5 separate regions of the Homo sapiens genome follow, and regions 2, 3, 4 and 5 are each linked to region 1. Evidence: promoter capture Hi-C in 16 types of primary human blood cells and fetal thymus (Javierre and others, 2016). All regions are on one chromosome and are shown on one strand. Each heading gives the region's core, a stretch centred on a gene start or on the middle of the fragment in contact. The rest is flanking DNA. Distances are from core to core; before and after follow the strand shown. Region 1 holds the start of APLN (apelin). Region 2 overlaps BCORL1 (BCL6 corepressor like 1). Region 3 overlaps BCORL1 (BCL6 corepressor like 1). Region 4 overlaps BCORL1 (BCL6 corepressor like 1). Region 5 overlaps UTP14A (UTP14A small subunit processome component).

Region 1 (2,700 bases), core at 177-2,676:
CAAAATTATGTATTGAGTACCAGTCATGTCGCAGGTACTGTTCTAGGTCTGGGGACACAGCTGTGAACAAAGCAAAGATCCCTCCCTTGTGGAGGTAACCCTTCTGGTGGAGAGAGACTGATAATAAATACATTGTGTATATATAGGATTTTTGCAACATTTCAAAGATATTTTAAATATGCCATGGTCTCTCATGTCTTTTATGGCACACACGCACCCTGTCCAATGTATCTTTTGTGTAAATCTGGACTTAACACTTCAAGCAAACTGCCTGGCTTGCTGAAAGGTGGAGACACCTTTCGATTCAGTCTTTTAATATGTGTTGAGTGCCACCTATGTGCAGAGCAAGATATTGGGGACTTTGGAGAGATCCAGAAGAGTGAGAAGACAGTATCCTACCTTAGGGGGTTCCCAGTCCAATGAGGGAAGCAGCCCCATGCCTTGGGAGCTCCCAAGCTATAGAAGCAGCTAACAATCGAGTCTGGAAAGGCAAACAACTTCAGGACCCGCTTCTAAAGCGGAATCGCAAGTACACGCAAAATGAATCCAGCCTTGACTGTGTGGAGTTGGGTAAACCACCTGCCTCTTACGTTGATGGGGAACTAGAATGAGGACAGCTCCAGGGAACAAGAAAGGGTAGACCATAGGAGCTGTCCCATGTCCCAACAGTGGGGAGGAGCTGATGGGCGGCCCCTGCTGGATTAGTGTTATCCTGAGAAGGCTTCTGGATGCGATGGGATTTGAGGTGCTGCTGCAAAGAATGAATTGCTCACGGAAGGGTGGGGTGGGGGCATTCCAGGTAGAGGGTGCCTCCTGGGGGATGCAGGGAACATGAGGGGCCTGGGCAATTAATCAAGCCTTGGGCACAAGCCTAGGCAGTCACCCCCAATTCAAAGCCAGTTGAAAATGCAGAGGAGAGAGGAGGGCCAGTGTTTGGTTGTCTTGACCAAACCCTTGAAGCTGGCCAGCGGCAAGGGCAAGGACCAGGGTCAGAGGTAGAGGGCGTGAGTGAAGGCAACCCAGACTGAGTCCTTCCCTAAGCGCCCAGGTTTCCTGACAGCTGTTAAGGAAGCAAGGTGAGAAAGGGTTAAGTGTGCCCCTCCACCGCCCCAAATGCTTCCTGTGTTTGAAATCCTTCAGGTCTCTGCAAACCCTCTGGCCCCCGGCCAGGCGGGCATTGTCCGGGGAGCGGTTGTAGGTTGTCAGAGAGGCCGCGCAGCCTTTGTTGTGGGGCCACCTCGGGGTTCCCTCTCGCGCTCACGCTCGGGCTGGGGCTGCAGAGTGCGTGCCTGGAGGGGGGCGGTGCGGGAGGCTCGCTCCCTCTCCCTCTTCCTGCCCCCCCTCTAGCCCTCCCGATGACCACATGACCAAGTGGGCTCGCGGCCAAGCCACAAGCTACAAAATGCAGCCCCTGGAGTGAGCGGGGAGCATTCTCTCTGGCAGCCGGGGTCACGGGCAGTTGCAGCCGCGGCCGAGCAGCCAGCCGCTAAGAAAGAGCTCGCCGCTGCCGCTCCCGGAGCCGCCGAGGCCAGCTTCGCGGCGCTGCCCCGCGGCGGGAGAGGAGGCTGCAGAAGAGCGGAGGCGGCCAGCGGGAGCGGCGGGGCTCAGCGCGCACACTCAGCGGCCGGGGAGCCTCCCGAGCTCTGCGCCCGCACGCGCCAGCCGCGGCTCGCGCCTTTCTTGGCCTCCGGGCGCCCGACCTCTCCTCCCCCGCGCCGGCTCGCCGGGGCCGCGGCGGCCCAAGGAGCAGCATGAATCTGCGGCTCTGCGTGCAGGCGCTCCTGCTGCTCTGGCTCTCCTTGACCGCGGTGTGTGGAGGTGAGTGCGCGCCCTCCCGCTCGCCCGGGCTGCAGCCGGCGTGCTCCTTTCCCTCCGCCCTATTCGCACTCTCCCCGCCTCCCGGGGAGCCCGGCGCGAGCCGTGCAGTAGCAGCCACGCGCCGGCCAGCGCCAGGCAGCAGATTGACAGAGCGCCCCGAGCCATGGGGCGGCTGGCCACAAGGACTGCTTCTTTTGCGGGGCTCAACTCGGCCTTTGGCATCACCTGCCCGTCACCTTGTCCCTCCTAACCGTCGCTCGCAGTCCCAGGAGCTCAGGACCACAGGTGTGCGCCGCGTGTCCCACGCCCTGCACCCCGCGTGGTAGAGGTGGAGGCGGGGGACATGCCCGCTCCCTCGTGGATCGATGGAAGGAACTGACCAGAGTCGAGTGGGCTGGGCTCCCATGTTGAACGTCTTCTGGTCCCTGAAGGCTGGGAGCCTCCCGCCAGTCCAGGGGCGCGGGAAACCGGGGATGATGTGCCAACATGCAGACGTGACACTTGTTGCATAGGCAGGAGTGCGCGGAGGGGGTGGCGGCATGGAGCCCAGCTGTTGCTCCTTTCGGCCTGCATGTGTGAGCAGAGGCAGCCTCCCCCAGGCAGGGCCGGGCCCAGCCGGGCTGGGCTGGTCTTCTCCTCCCTAACCCCAAGGTCCTGGCTGGTCTCCTCCCCTGCACAGGATGCCCTCCCCATAGCCTCCATCCCACCCCCAGAGACTTGGTTCTCTTACATCCTGGCTCCAGCCTTCCTTTCTGTCCCAGGCACGGACATGCTTCACTTTAGTCTCCCTGCCGCTAGGCACCAAAGGAGGAAGCACAGCACCTGACCCGACCCCTCCCTGCAGCTCAGGAAAGGGGAGTCCTTTTGCCCTCACCTGCCAAT
Region 2 (2,700 bases), core at 180-2,679, 360 kb before region 1:
CACCTATCCCAGGGGTTCTTAACCTGCAGTCCCTGGGTGAGCTTTGGGCGATGGGGCAGAGGTCAGGTCCATGAACCCCCTAAAATTATTGGCAAAATTCTGAGGTCACATTTCTGGGAACAGGGTCCATAGCTCTCACCAGCTTTTCAAAATGGTCTATGGTCCAAAAAAGACCATAAACTTGTGCCACAGCCAAATTCACAGTGCTCTAGCCAGAAATTTTGTCCCTTAGTGTACATGAACATCCAACTTGAAAGCTTGCTAACAGAACTTCAAGTTGTTCTAGATTTTTAATAAACCCTATCCTCAAATGTTTCAAGATTCTCCTTGGATCACCAGTAGCCTCTGGTCCCTTCTGGGGGACCAGGGGATTCTCATCAAGTGCTCCTGGCCCACCTTTTTGCCTAGAACTCTGCCACCATCCATAGCCTGTCAAGACCAACACCCAGACACCCAACCTGCCTTGCCCATCCAATCCCCAGTGGGCCAAAACCCAAAGCTGCTGCCTCAAGCATTCGAGCGGGTAGGAAACTGATTAGCACAGAAGCCAAATTGGCTCTGACCCCACAAGGCTCCCAGCAAATCCTAAGCAGGCCCCCCAACCAGTGGTGAAAGGAACAACCCCGTCAGAGGCCCCTGCTCTCCCCATCCCTAAGTTCTCAAGGCCAGTGTTCTCTCAGTAAAGGAAAAGGAAGAATGGTTATTCAAGGAAGAGCCTGTTATTCATTGATTTCCCTCACCAATACCTTCTTCCGCTTTCCGATCTCATCTGGGACAATGGCTTCCCTACCCCAGGGACAGAATCATTTCCCACATCCTACAAACTACAAGCCAGCCTCTCCCCATGCTGAGACACCGTATATGGAAAATGTGACCTAGGGAGGGGACAGCAGGTCATTATTACTTTTACAAAAGCCTTCCAATCCGTTCAGTTCACACAGCTGCCCAACAGCACTGTGTCACAGGGTAGGGGTCACAGGAGGTTGCTATCCATGGCACGAAGTAGACCAGCGGCATCTCGGCCCCACCCTGGACCTTAGCTCAGCACTCACCTTGGGTCTGTGGGAACTCCGGACCACGGCCTTGGCTTGTGGCTGGAGCTGCTGCTCTTCACTGTCCTTCTCTTTGCCGCACTTCATCTTCTTGGGCGGCAGAGATTCCGTCACATCATCTGGCTGCCACTTGTTCTTGCAAGCAAAGACCCCTACGCTTTCCTGTTTCACTCGAGCCTGCCCGGCCTTAGCCCGAACTTCAGCTTGGCCCCTCTGGGGAGCCACTGGGAGGCCATCAGCCCGGAAGCAGGTGGCTAAATTGAAGACCACATCACCATCCACCTTCTCCATTTTCACTCGCCCCAGATCCACCTGGCTTCCAAGCTGTGGGCGCTCTGTGCTGGAGCCCCTCCTGCTGCTCGGAACCACGTCCAATATAAGTTCCTTGGGGTGGCTGTCGTGAGGTAGCAAAGGCAGCTCAGGCATCTTAGGCAGGTTCTGGGGGGTGGCCAGGACCAGCTCATGGGACATGTAGGTGGCCAGCACTTGGTTCTTAGGCTTCGTGTCTCCTGCCAGCTTCAGGCCACAAGCCCCCTGGGGGCCTTCCATCTTAGGAGTGCTGTCAGAGCAGAGGTGGCTCTCTGATTCCTCAGGCCCCTGATTCATTCGAATGTCCCCACCGCTAGGCTGAACAGACAGTGCCAGGGTCCCAGTCTGAGGGCTGAGGGTCAAGAGGACAGGATTGACTTGTTCTTCATAAGGCTTGGCAGCAATCCGGCAAGTTTTGTTCTTTGTAACAGGGTCCTGCTCTGGAACGAAGGAGCCCCCAGGCCGTGGTTGCCCCTCAGGAAGTCCGTGCACGGCTTCGCTGGAGCTGAGAGATGGCACACCAGAAAACTCCGAAACAACGCTGGTGGGCCTGATGGGCGCCCCCTGACTGGGGGTCAGCTGCCCGGCACTGGAAATGCCAATGGAAAGCAGAGACGCCTGGTGGTACGGGGACCAGCCAACAGGCAGGACCTGGGTGCTGGTAGGTTTCCCATTGACTGAACACCGGGGATAAATATTTGCCGGCCCCGTGGGTTTCCACAAAGAGAGTTCCTTGGTTTGGCACCCTGGCAGCCCAGGGGCAATGCGGGCTGGAGTATATCGTTTCACTGTGCTTGGCTGTCCCTCAGCACCAGCCTGGCTGCCCTTTTTGCCACACGTGGCACCAGTGCCCTTAGGCTCTCCTTGATCAATGATGGAGATGGGCTCCTGCTTGGGGAGATGGCGGGGGTCACGGTTGAGGCCCAGGTTGGGGTCTTTGTTCAGCAGCAGGGATGCAGGCACTGGGTTGGCCACTCCCACGTAGGTGCCAGGAATGGTGCTGATCAGTGCAGTTGAGTTCTTCACCCAGGTGCTCGGGTCCCCATTCCTCACGATCTCGGGAAAGATGACAAAGGGCGAGGAAGTGGAGCCCAGGCAGGAGGTGACATTGCCACCGGCAGCCTGGGTTGTGCGCTGAGACCTAGACAGGACTGTGGAGAGGAGGGCCTTGCTGCTGGTGTGCACGGGGGTCAACACAGGCATGGGGGGTGTCTTGCGCTGGTTCGGCAATGGAAGCTTCTGGCGGTTGGACTTGGAGGACAGATCAAGGGGCATCTCGCTGCACTCAGGTGGAGAGGCCATCTCTCGTTCCAGCTGTGGCGGTGACTTAAGAGGAGAG
Region 3 (2,700 bases), core at 138-2,637, 380 kb before region 1:
CATAGTCCCAGCTACTCAGAAGGCTGAGGCAGGAGAATTGCTTGAAACCGGGAGGCAGAGGTTGCAGCGAGCCAAGATTGTGCCACTGCATACCAGCCTGGGCGACAGAGTGAGACTCCATCTCAAAAAAAAAAAAAAGGTGGGGGCAACTGTAGAGGGATACTTCAGTTCAGGGAACTGAAGGCCCTGGGTGACTCCCTGAGAGCAGAGATGAGCAGAAGGGCTCCACACGCCAGGCAGAACCCAAGCGGAGCCCCCTCCTGGATCTGCAGCTCCTGTCTCTAATTTGCCCAGGAAGTAGGCTCTCTGGTAGAACAGAGGAGAATGGGTACAATTTCTCTAAGACACAGCAGGTGTATTTTTCTTACAGTGTCTAGAGATCAAATTTTAAAAATCAAATCTGGATATTACCCTCAGGTCAACCTCTCAGTTTCTATTCTGTCTGAGACACGTCCCCCACCAGGATGAGTTGAGGGAAGACCGAGTGGTCTTCCTGGTGACAGCTACACATGATGGGATGATCCCTAGACAACCACAGCCTCCCCTTAGTAACTGATGCGGCCTGGCCATCTGGGAACTAACTCATTGGCTCCTGCCCTAAACTGGTTCCCTCTTGAGCCTATAGAAGTCTTTCCAAAACTCCTCCTGTCAAGGCCTCTCTGCAACTCGCAGTCTGGTGTGCTACGAAGGTTCAGGTTGAGGTAAGGTCTTTATTTTTTTATTTTTTATGTTTTTTTGAGACGGAGTCTCCATCACCCAGGCTGGAGTGCAATGGCATGGTCGCGGCTCACTGCAACCTCCACCTCCTGGGTTCAAGCAATTCTCCTGCCTCAGCCTCCTTAGTAGCTGGGACTACAGGCACATGCCACCACACCCGGCTAATTTTTGTATTTTTAGTAAAGATGGGGTTTCACTATGTTGGCCAGGCTGGTCTCGAACTCCTGACCTCATGATCCGCCCGCCTTGGCCTCCCAAAGTGCTGGGATTACAGGCGTGAGCCACCATGCCTGCCAGCGGCAGGCAAGGTCTTTTGAGTGAGAGGCTGAGCTGGGAGTGAGGGCGGGACTGGGGGGAGATGCAGCCCTCTTGCCTCGTGCCGTCCTGCGCACTGCAGTTCACGTTGGCCCCGTGCTCCAGCAGGATGTTCAGGATGTCGGTCCAGCCCCGGGAACAAGCCTCATGCAGGGCTGTGTAGCCAGCATTGTCACGGTGATTCACATCTTCACTGTCTTTCTGGAGGCAGTAGAGAACAACATCCTGTGGGGACAGGGACAACTCCATGAGCAAAGAGAGGTCTAATTCTTGAACTTATATAACCCTGAGACTCAAAGCTCCCCAAATATCTGAGGAGTCTCAGAGCCTGCCCTTTATAGCAGGGACACACTTCAAAATCTTTCATTAACAACATCAGTCCTGAGCCACAATTGCCAGGACCCCAGCTCTGGGCCGTTTCCTTGGCAGTGGAGAGACTTTTTTTTTTGAGACAGTCTCACTCTGTTGCCCAGGCTGGAGTGCAGTGGCGCAATCTCAGCTCACTGCAGCCTCTGCCTCCCAGGTTCAAGCGATTCTCCTGCCTTAGCCTCCCAAGTAGCTGGAGCTACAGGCGCACGCCACCACGCCTGGCTAATTTTCGTATTTTTAATAGAGATGAGATTTCACTATGTTGGCCAGGCTGGTCTCCAGCTCCTGAACTCAGGTGATCTGCCCACCTTGGCTTCCCAAAGTGTTAGGGTTACAGGCGTGAGCCACCGCACCTGGCCTGGAGAGACTTTTTTTATGGCCAAGGACACTCATCTGGGTGGTGGTATTTGAGGTGAGGTCCTCAGAGAGGCTGACCTGCCCGCCCAGAGCTCAAGCACTCAGACCTCGACTCCCTGAGCTTGGCAAGCCAGCCCCAGACCAGAGAAATGAGATGTGGTGGAGAGCACAGCCTCTGGTGGCAATTCAAGAATAAGGAAGACAATTGTTTTAAGGACTATCCCTGGATGCACGTCTCGGCAGGACCAATGTTCAAGCCAGGACAGTCAGTTCTAGCCCTCCCCTCAAATCAGGATAATCCAATAGGCTGGGTGCAGTGGCTCACGCCTGTAATCCCAGCACTTTGGGAGGCTGAGGCGGGCAGATCACCTGAGGTCAGGAGTTTGAGACCAGCCTAGCCAACATGGCAAAACCCCCTCTCTACTAAAAATACAAAAATTAGCCCAGTGTGATGGCAGGTGCCTGTAATCCCAGCCACTCAGGAGGCTGAGGCAGGAGAATCCCTTGAACCCAGGAGGTGGAGGCTGCAGTGAGCCGAGATTGCACCGTTGCACTCCAGCCTAGGTGACAGAGCAAGACTCCATCTCCAAAAAAAAAAAAAAAGGATAATCCAATACTGCCATTCATCCACACTTTAATGACTGCCTTCCTTGGATTGAGATGATGCTAGGACTACAGGTGGGACACCAGGGACTTGAAGCACCCTAGCTAGCATGGGCTGAAGCTGGGTGAATGAGGTGAGGAGGGGAGAGGCTGGCAGCATTAATGGCTGCCTGGCTTTCCAAACAATGGATCCCATAGCTGCACCATTGCCAGTCCTCTCTGGGGCACTGGGGAGATGGGCCACTCCACCTTTCTGTCTGACAGCTCACAGGCTAGCTGGCTAGAGCGGCTGTGTGTGCAGCCTGTGTCAGGGGTGCTGCTGGCTGTATATAGAAACTG
Region 4 (2,700 bases), core at 110-2,609, 400 kb before region 1:
GCTTCAAAGGGCCTCATCCCAGGCCTCTCGAACATCCTCTTCCTCTCAGTCACTGGTGCATTCTGGAACCAGCAATCACAAGAATCATAGCTTCTACCACTGTTTTTCAGAAGTGGGAGGAAAAACTGCAAAATCCAGGATGGGCATCTTGCCTTCATGGTAGCTCGGTGGCAGGAAAACAGAACCATGGAAGGCCTGCACCGTGGGTGGGGAGCACTGGCACAACAGTGAGGGCAGTGATGAGGCCATGCAGCCAGATGCCACCTCGGCAGGGTGGCCTAGGGCAAGCAGGGGACTTCCTTAAGGAGGCTTATTCCCACAGCCACCACAGAGAAGGCTACTTCCTCCAACCCTGCTACTCCTATGTAAACAAGGACTGCCCAGGCACCTGCTTCAACCCCAAACCAAAGCAACAGGAGCCAGATGCTCCATTTGCCCCCACTGGCCCCGCCCCCAGGATTTGCCCCTTTCTTTTTCTTTCCAGATCGTGACCCAATGTTCACTAGCCACTCCACCTTGCCTTTATTCATCGTACCCCTTGGGACCCACAGCTGCAAAGCAGGATGGCGGGGGCTCCCCATTTACTGAATCACAATGCCCACCTTCTGAAACCACCAAAAAGTCCCAAAGGGGAGGAGAGAAAAAGAGAGACGGGAGAGAAAAAGAGAGACGGGAGACAGAAGCCCTGACACAGGTTTTTCAGTATGCAAGTGTTTTTGACTCCACAGCCAGTTGCTTAAAATGAAACATAAAGGGCAGCCAGAATATACACCCAAATGCGAAAAAAGGAAAGGCAAACAGAACATGAAATAAACTACACAATACCAGGAACCCCAACAAAACCAACAAATTAAAGTCCAAAACCCCTCAACTTTATATATATATATGTATATATATATGTATTTTTTTTTCTTAAAAAGGGAAAACAACTGTTCAAAACCAACTGGGCAGTATGGTGGGGGTGGGGAGCAGTCCTACAGAAGGGGGCCGAGAACTTCCCCCCCAGGAACAAAGAACAAACACAATACAAAGAAAATAACCACCAATGCTCCCGCATGGCTCAGGAGCCTCTAGAGAACAGATTGTCCCATCCTCAAACTGGCTTTTTTTTTTTCCTTTTTTTTTTAATCTTTTTTTTTTCCATTTTCTTTTTTGTTGTTGTTGTTTTAGCACCTGTACAATAAAACTGTACCATCTCCAACCAGAGCCGGCCACGGCGAGGCCCTCCTGCCTTTGGATGGTACATACTCTACAAGGATTGTTCGGAAAAATAGCAATTGGTAGAAAAATAAGAGTGGGAGGGACAATGCCACAGAGGGGGCGGGGACAGGGAAGCAACCCAAGCTCCTCTCTCTCTCTCACTCGACAAACCCAGCGCTGGAGGCCCAGAGGCCAGGGGGAGGCCAGGTAGGGATACCACTCAGCCCCAGGCCCCCAGGCATGAGTGGAGCAAGGGCTGGAGACCACTTTCCTGCCCTTGCCTAGGAAACAGCTGACGCCTGGATTTCACATCCGGCAGTGAGTCCCAGAGCCCTCTGCAGATTCCCAAGGAGAATGAGGGGCTGAGGGAGGAGGTGGGAGGAGAGGAAGGAAAGGGGTGCTGTGAGTCTCAGAAGGGGCAGGGATGGGGGTGGCTGAGGGCTGGGAGGTGAGAGGCTCAGTATCTTGAGACAGGGAGGCCAGAACGGGGTGGGAGAGTGGAGGCAGGAACAAACTCGTATTGTGCACTCTGAGGGGGGCAGTGAAGAAGGCGTGAGGAGGGGGGCCACCCTCACCCCTCAGATCCCTTCTCCACGCTCCTTTATTAGAGTAACTTATTAACCCCTCACCTCACAATCCTCCCCTCCCTGTCAACACTAATCTCAAGATAGCGGGGCTGCTGCAAAGGGCGGGAATGGGTGGGTGGGGGAGCACCAAAGCCTCAGGATTTACCCCCAAGCCCCCAGCCCTGGGCCAGCAGCAACCAGCTTCGTTAGTCACAAGTCCATGTTCCCCCACCCCATTCCACCTCACCCCCTCCCCAGTGGGGGAAAAAAACACCAGGGAATAGCTTTGTCAGAGCTCATCAACAAAGAAAAAGAAAAGGAGGTACAGAAAGTCCCTCAATACAACAAGTTGTCTCAAATCGTCACAGTGATACAGACTTATCAGAAACCAATGAAACAATACAAATTAAATACTAATAAAATAAATACTACAGAAGACAGAAGAACACAGGGGAATGGAGTTGGGGGGCGCTCAGAGATCTGGGATTTTCTCATTTCTCCTCGGGACAGGCCAAGGCCATCCAGGGCCCAGGTTTGGTCTTGGTCATGAACAAGGAGGCCAGTCCAAGGGACCCCGGCGCCACCTCCCACCACCCCCGGGACCTCTTGTCCTCAGACATGGAGTTCAACTTTCCACCCCCATCAGCAACCACGATAACAATGACGACGACAGGGAGATGAGAACTAATTGTAACCAAAAAAACAAAAACAGTCCAGTCGCTAATGCTGGCATTGATAAGGCGGCTTCTTGTTGGTCCGTATTATTGCCTCATTCTGCAGTCTGGTGCTCGGTCGGGGAAAGACAAGGAGGTGGGGGAAGGGCGAACTCGGAAGGAGAAAGAAGAGGAGGGGCTGTTTTCCCGGTCAACTGTTGCAAGACTGGAATTCCACCTCGGACCCTAGGAGCCGAAGTAGGTCTGGCTCGTACCGCACC
Region 5 (2,700 bases), core at 179-2,678, 270 kb before region 1:
AATTGGGACTGCAGTAGTTATGATTCAGTTTCTGCAGTGATTGGTTCACAAAATAAGATCAAAAAGAATGTTATTGAAATGTGTATCTTCTTACCTCTGTTCTGTAGCCATTAATTCTTTATTCCTTCCGAGGGAAAAATGTAACTCATTTCAATATACTGGCTGGGGACAGATCTCAGAATTGAAGGGAACATAAAGGTCATCTAGTCCAATCTCGTTCTTGAGTCCCCTTTACACATTCTCATACTCCCAGAGCAGCCTTGAATTCTGTATGTCCTCTAACTTCTACTTTATGTGACTTCATACAATAACCTTCGATATACTTGAACACCGTAATCACGCTCAAATTTTCTTCTCTTGTAAACATCCCTAGCTCATTATCATGTGACACAACTTACAATCTTCTCATTCTCCTGAACAAGTACCGGTTTGTCTTCATTTTTCTTAAGCTACAGCTTAAACCTTATAGCCTCTGTTTGAGCATTACCTTGACTCTAAACTTTTTTCCTGGCCAGTAATTAAAACAGCGTAGTCTATCTGAAATGATAAATCTAACAGCCATTCAGTGAAAACAACAGATTTGATTCTGCGGTCAAGATCACACGTCTCTCTTGACTACAGATCACTAGAATACTCCTCTCAAGCAAGAGAGCCAGGCAGTAACAAGCAGGCAGCTAAAGAGCTCTCTAAGCTCTCACCTGATGAGCAGCTGCGTGGATGTTGCGCTTCTCATTGATAATCACATTTGGCAAATTCTTATCTTTTCTTGGAGGACCCTCAGGGGCTTTAATGAGAAACCTGGAAAGCAAAACAACAGGACATCTGACTAGGAGCATTAAGGACTTAGTCAAAAGGGTAGGGAGGACACCGAAGGGCGAGGGGAGAACCCGGTGCCCTTTTGACAGACTTTCTTCGGCATTCTTACCGGCGTCTTTTCTTGGCACTGGGCTTTAGGCCCACACCACCCCACTCGCCCCAGCCAGGTAGTGTCAGGTCCACGTCCTTTGGCTTACTCGCCTCCACAGCTTCCCTCTTCTCTTTCAAGAAATCTCTGATGACATCATCCCCAGCAAAAGCTTCCTTTATCATCTGCCTATGGTTTCTCTCCTCTTCATCTTCCTGGGAAGAAACAAGCGAGAGCTACAGCTTGGCTTATGAGCTGTGGTTCATGGCGAGAACGCTTGAATTTCGGGTCGTGACATTTTAGCGCCCCCTAGGGGGAAGTGCTGAACAATGATGGTCTTGCGATACAAACCAGTGCACAGCCAATCATGCTCAAATTTTCTTCCCTCTAGGGTAAATATCCCTAGCTCATTATCATATGACACAATTTTAAACTTTTCAGTAAGGAAGCTGCAGGGTGGAGGAAGGAATGGCCCGTGTTAGCAGCAGGAGCTCTAAGTGGCCAGACTGTAGGCTTCCTCCAGCTTATATCCCTGAAAAGACAGGTGCCAGGACGCTTCACTTTAAGTTTCAGATTAACTGGGGAGTCTTAGACCATCTGAGATCCCACTGAATAAAACTTTCGCAACAGTTCAATGACTCACCTTCAAGTTGTCCTGCCTGGGATCTGGTCAGAACTCTGAGTTACTCCCTCTTACCTCTGAGAGCAGTTTTAGAGTCACCCCAGAGGAGTTTTTGTGGATCAGGCTTTCGGAAATAGGGGTCTTGGCAGCACCCATATATCTGCATCTATTAAAACGTCACTGGGACTAGCCTGGCCCTATACTATTCTGGACCTCTAAACTACTGAAATGTGCCCCCAGCAAAACAAAGCTTCATTACTCCTTGCGCAAGAACGACACTTTCTGAACAATGGCCCACCACCCTGGCTCTGCTCACCAGCTCCTCTATTGTGGGAACTGCCAAAGACTTCACGGAGGGAGATTGTGTGGTTAGGAGGTTCTGTAGGTCGATCATTTGCTCCTTCTTTTTCTTCTCCTTAGGGGCATCAGGGCGATTATTTGGGGTCCTCTCTGACTGCTGCCCTTCTAACACAGGTCTGGGAAGCTCCTTATTTTGAAAACATTCTTCTTTTCCCAGCTCTTCTAGCTCTTCCAGCGTCTGTACTCTCTCTGGTCTCTGTAGCAACAGGGGCTCCTCTTCTTCTGGGGCAGGTTCCTCTCTCTGGACCTGGGGAATAGTCCCCTCTGAACTTGCTTTTTGCTTCCTGGACTGATGGTTTTCCTTCAATTTCTGAGATAGTACTCTCAATTCAGACAGCACCTCCTGGCTGCCAGAATCTGGGGGAAAAAAGAATGAAAACTGTCAGAAAATGAGGTTTGTACGTTGTCTGGTCGGTAAGCATTTGTTGAGCACCCACCAAGTGCTAGGTACCACATAAGACATTATAAAAAGGACAAACGGGGAAAAGAAGATTCTGTACATTGAATCTCCTAGACAGTACACTAATCATAGCAGGCAACGGAGTTTGGTAATTAAAAGTAGCATGTGGCCAGGTGCGGTGGCTCACACCTGTAATCCCAGCACTTTGGGAGGCCGAGGCGGGCAGATCATGAGGTCAGGAGATCGAGACCATCCTGGCTAACACGGTGAAACCCCATCTCTACTAAAAATACAAAAAATTAGCTGGGCATGGTGGCATGTGCCTGTAGTCCAGCTACTCAGGAGGCTGAGGCAGGAGAATCACTTGAACCAGGGAGGCAGAGGTTGCAGTGAGCCGAGATTGTGCCACTGCAC

What was found. The method cuts DNA at HindIII sites, captures the fragments that hold promoters and counts their contacts. A CHiCAGO score of 5 or more calls a contact.
Region 2: a contact is called between a fragment that was not itself captured here and the fragment with the promoter of APLN in region 1, in 5 of 17 cell types (non-activated CD4 T cells, total B cells, activated CD4 T cells and 2 more). The highest score is 7.9, in non-activated CD4 T cells.
Region 3: a fragment that was not itself captured here is called in contact with the fragment with the promoter of APLN in region 1 in 11 of 17 cell types (non-activated CD4 T cells, naive CD8 T cells, naive CD4 T cells and 8 more); the score reaches 11.0 in non-activated CD4 T cells.
Region 4: a fragment that was not itself captured here is called in contact with the fragment with the promoter of APLN in region 1 in 6 of 17 cell types (activated CD4 T cells, non-activated CD4 T cells, total CD8 T cells and 3 more); the score reaches 10.3 in activated CD4 T cells.
Region 5: a contact is called between a fragment that was not itself captured here and the fragment with the promoter of APLN in region 1, in 10 of 17 cell types (total B cells, activated CD4 T cells, naive B cells and 7 more). The highest score is 12.6, in total B cells.

The regions. Positions count from the first base shown.
Region 1 is chrX:129,653,682-129,656,381 of GRCh38, reverse strand. APLN (apelin) reads left to right here and starts at 1,426. Exons shown (of 3, transcript NM_017413.5): 1 at 1,426-1,818. The coding sequence starts at 1,752. RefSeq lists enhancers at 243-302, 313-402, 2,095-2,154 and silencers at 1,585-1,664, 1,755-1,804. The HindIII fragment of the contact is 20,761 bases long and covers 1-2,700 here.
Region 2 is chrX:130,014,566-130,017,265 of GRCh38, reverse strand. It overlaps BCORL1 (BCL6 corepressor like 1), which reads right to left. Exons shown (of 14, transcript NM_001379451.1): 4 at 1,053-2,700. Among named protein-coding and RNA genes, the nearest start is that of BCORL1, 33 kb to the right of the region's middle. The HindIII fragment of the contact is 2,340 bases long and covers 260-2,599 here.
Region 3 is chrX:130,035,924-130,038,623 of GRCh38, reverse strand. BCORL1 (BCL6 corepressor like 1) reads right to left here. Exons shown (of 14, transcript NM_001379451.1): 10 at 1,091-1,257. Among named protein-coding and RNA genes, the nearest start is that of BCORL1, 55 kb to the right of the region's middle. The HindIII fragment of the contact is 5,010 bases long and covers 1-2,700 here.
Region 4 is chrX:130,056,067-130,058,766 of GRCh38, reverse strand. It overlaps BCORL1 (BCL6 corepressor like 1), which reads right to left. Exons shown (of 14, transcript NM_001379451.1): 14 at 696-2,700. The coding sequence ends at 2,631. Among named protein-coding and RNA genes, the nearest start is that of ELF4, 53 kb to the left of the region's middle. The HindIII fragment of the contact is 3,020 bases long and covers 1-2,700 here.
Region 5 is chrX:129,924,338-129,927,037 of GRCh38, reverse strand. It overlaps UTP14A (UTP14A small subunit processome component), which reads right to left. Exons shown (of 15, transcript NM_006649.4): 12 at 1,843-2,243; 13 at 926-1,119; 14 at 699-798. The region is part of intron 2 of LOC105373335 (a long non-coding RNA gene); the gene reads left to right. Among named protein-coding and RNA genes, the nearest start is that of UTP14A, 20 kb to the right of the region's middle. RefSeq lists a silencer at 1,255-1,304. The HindIII fragment of the contact is 700 bases long and covers 1,079-1,778 here.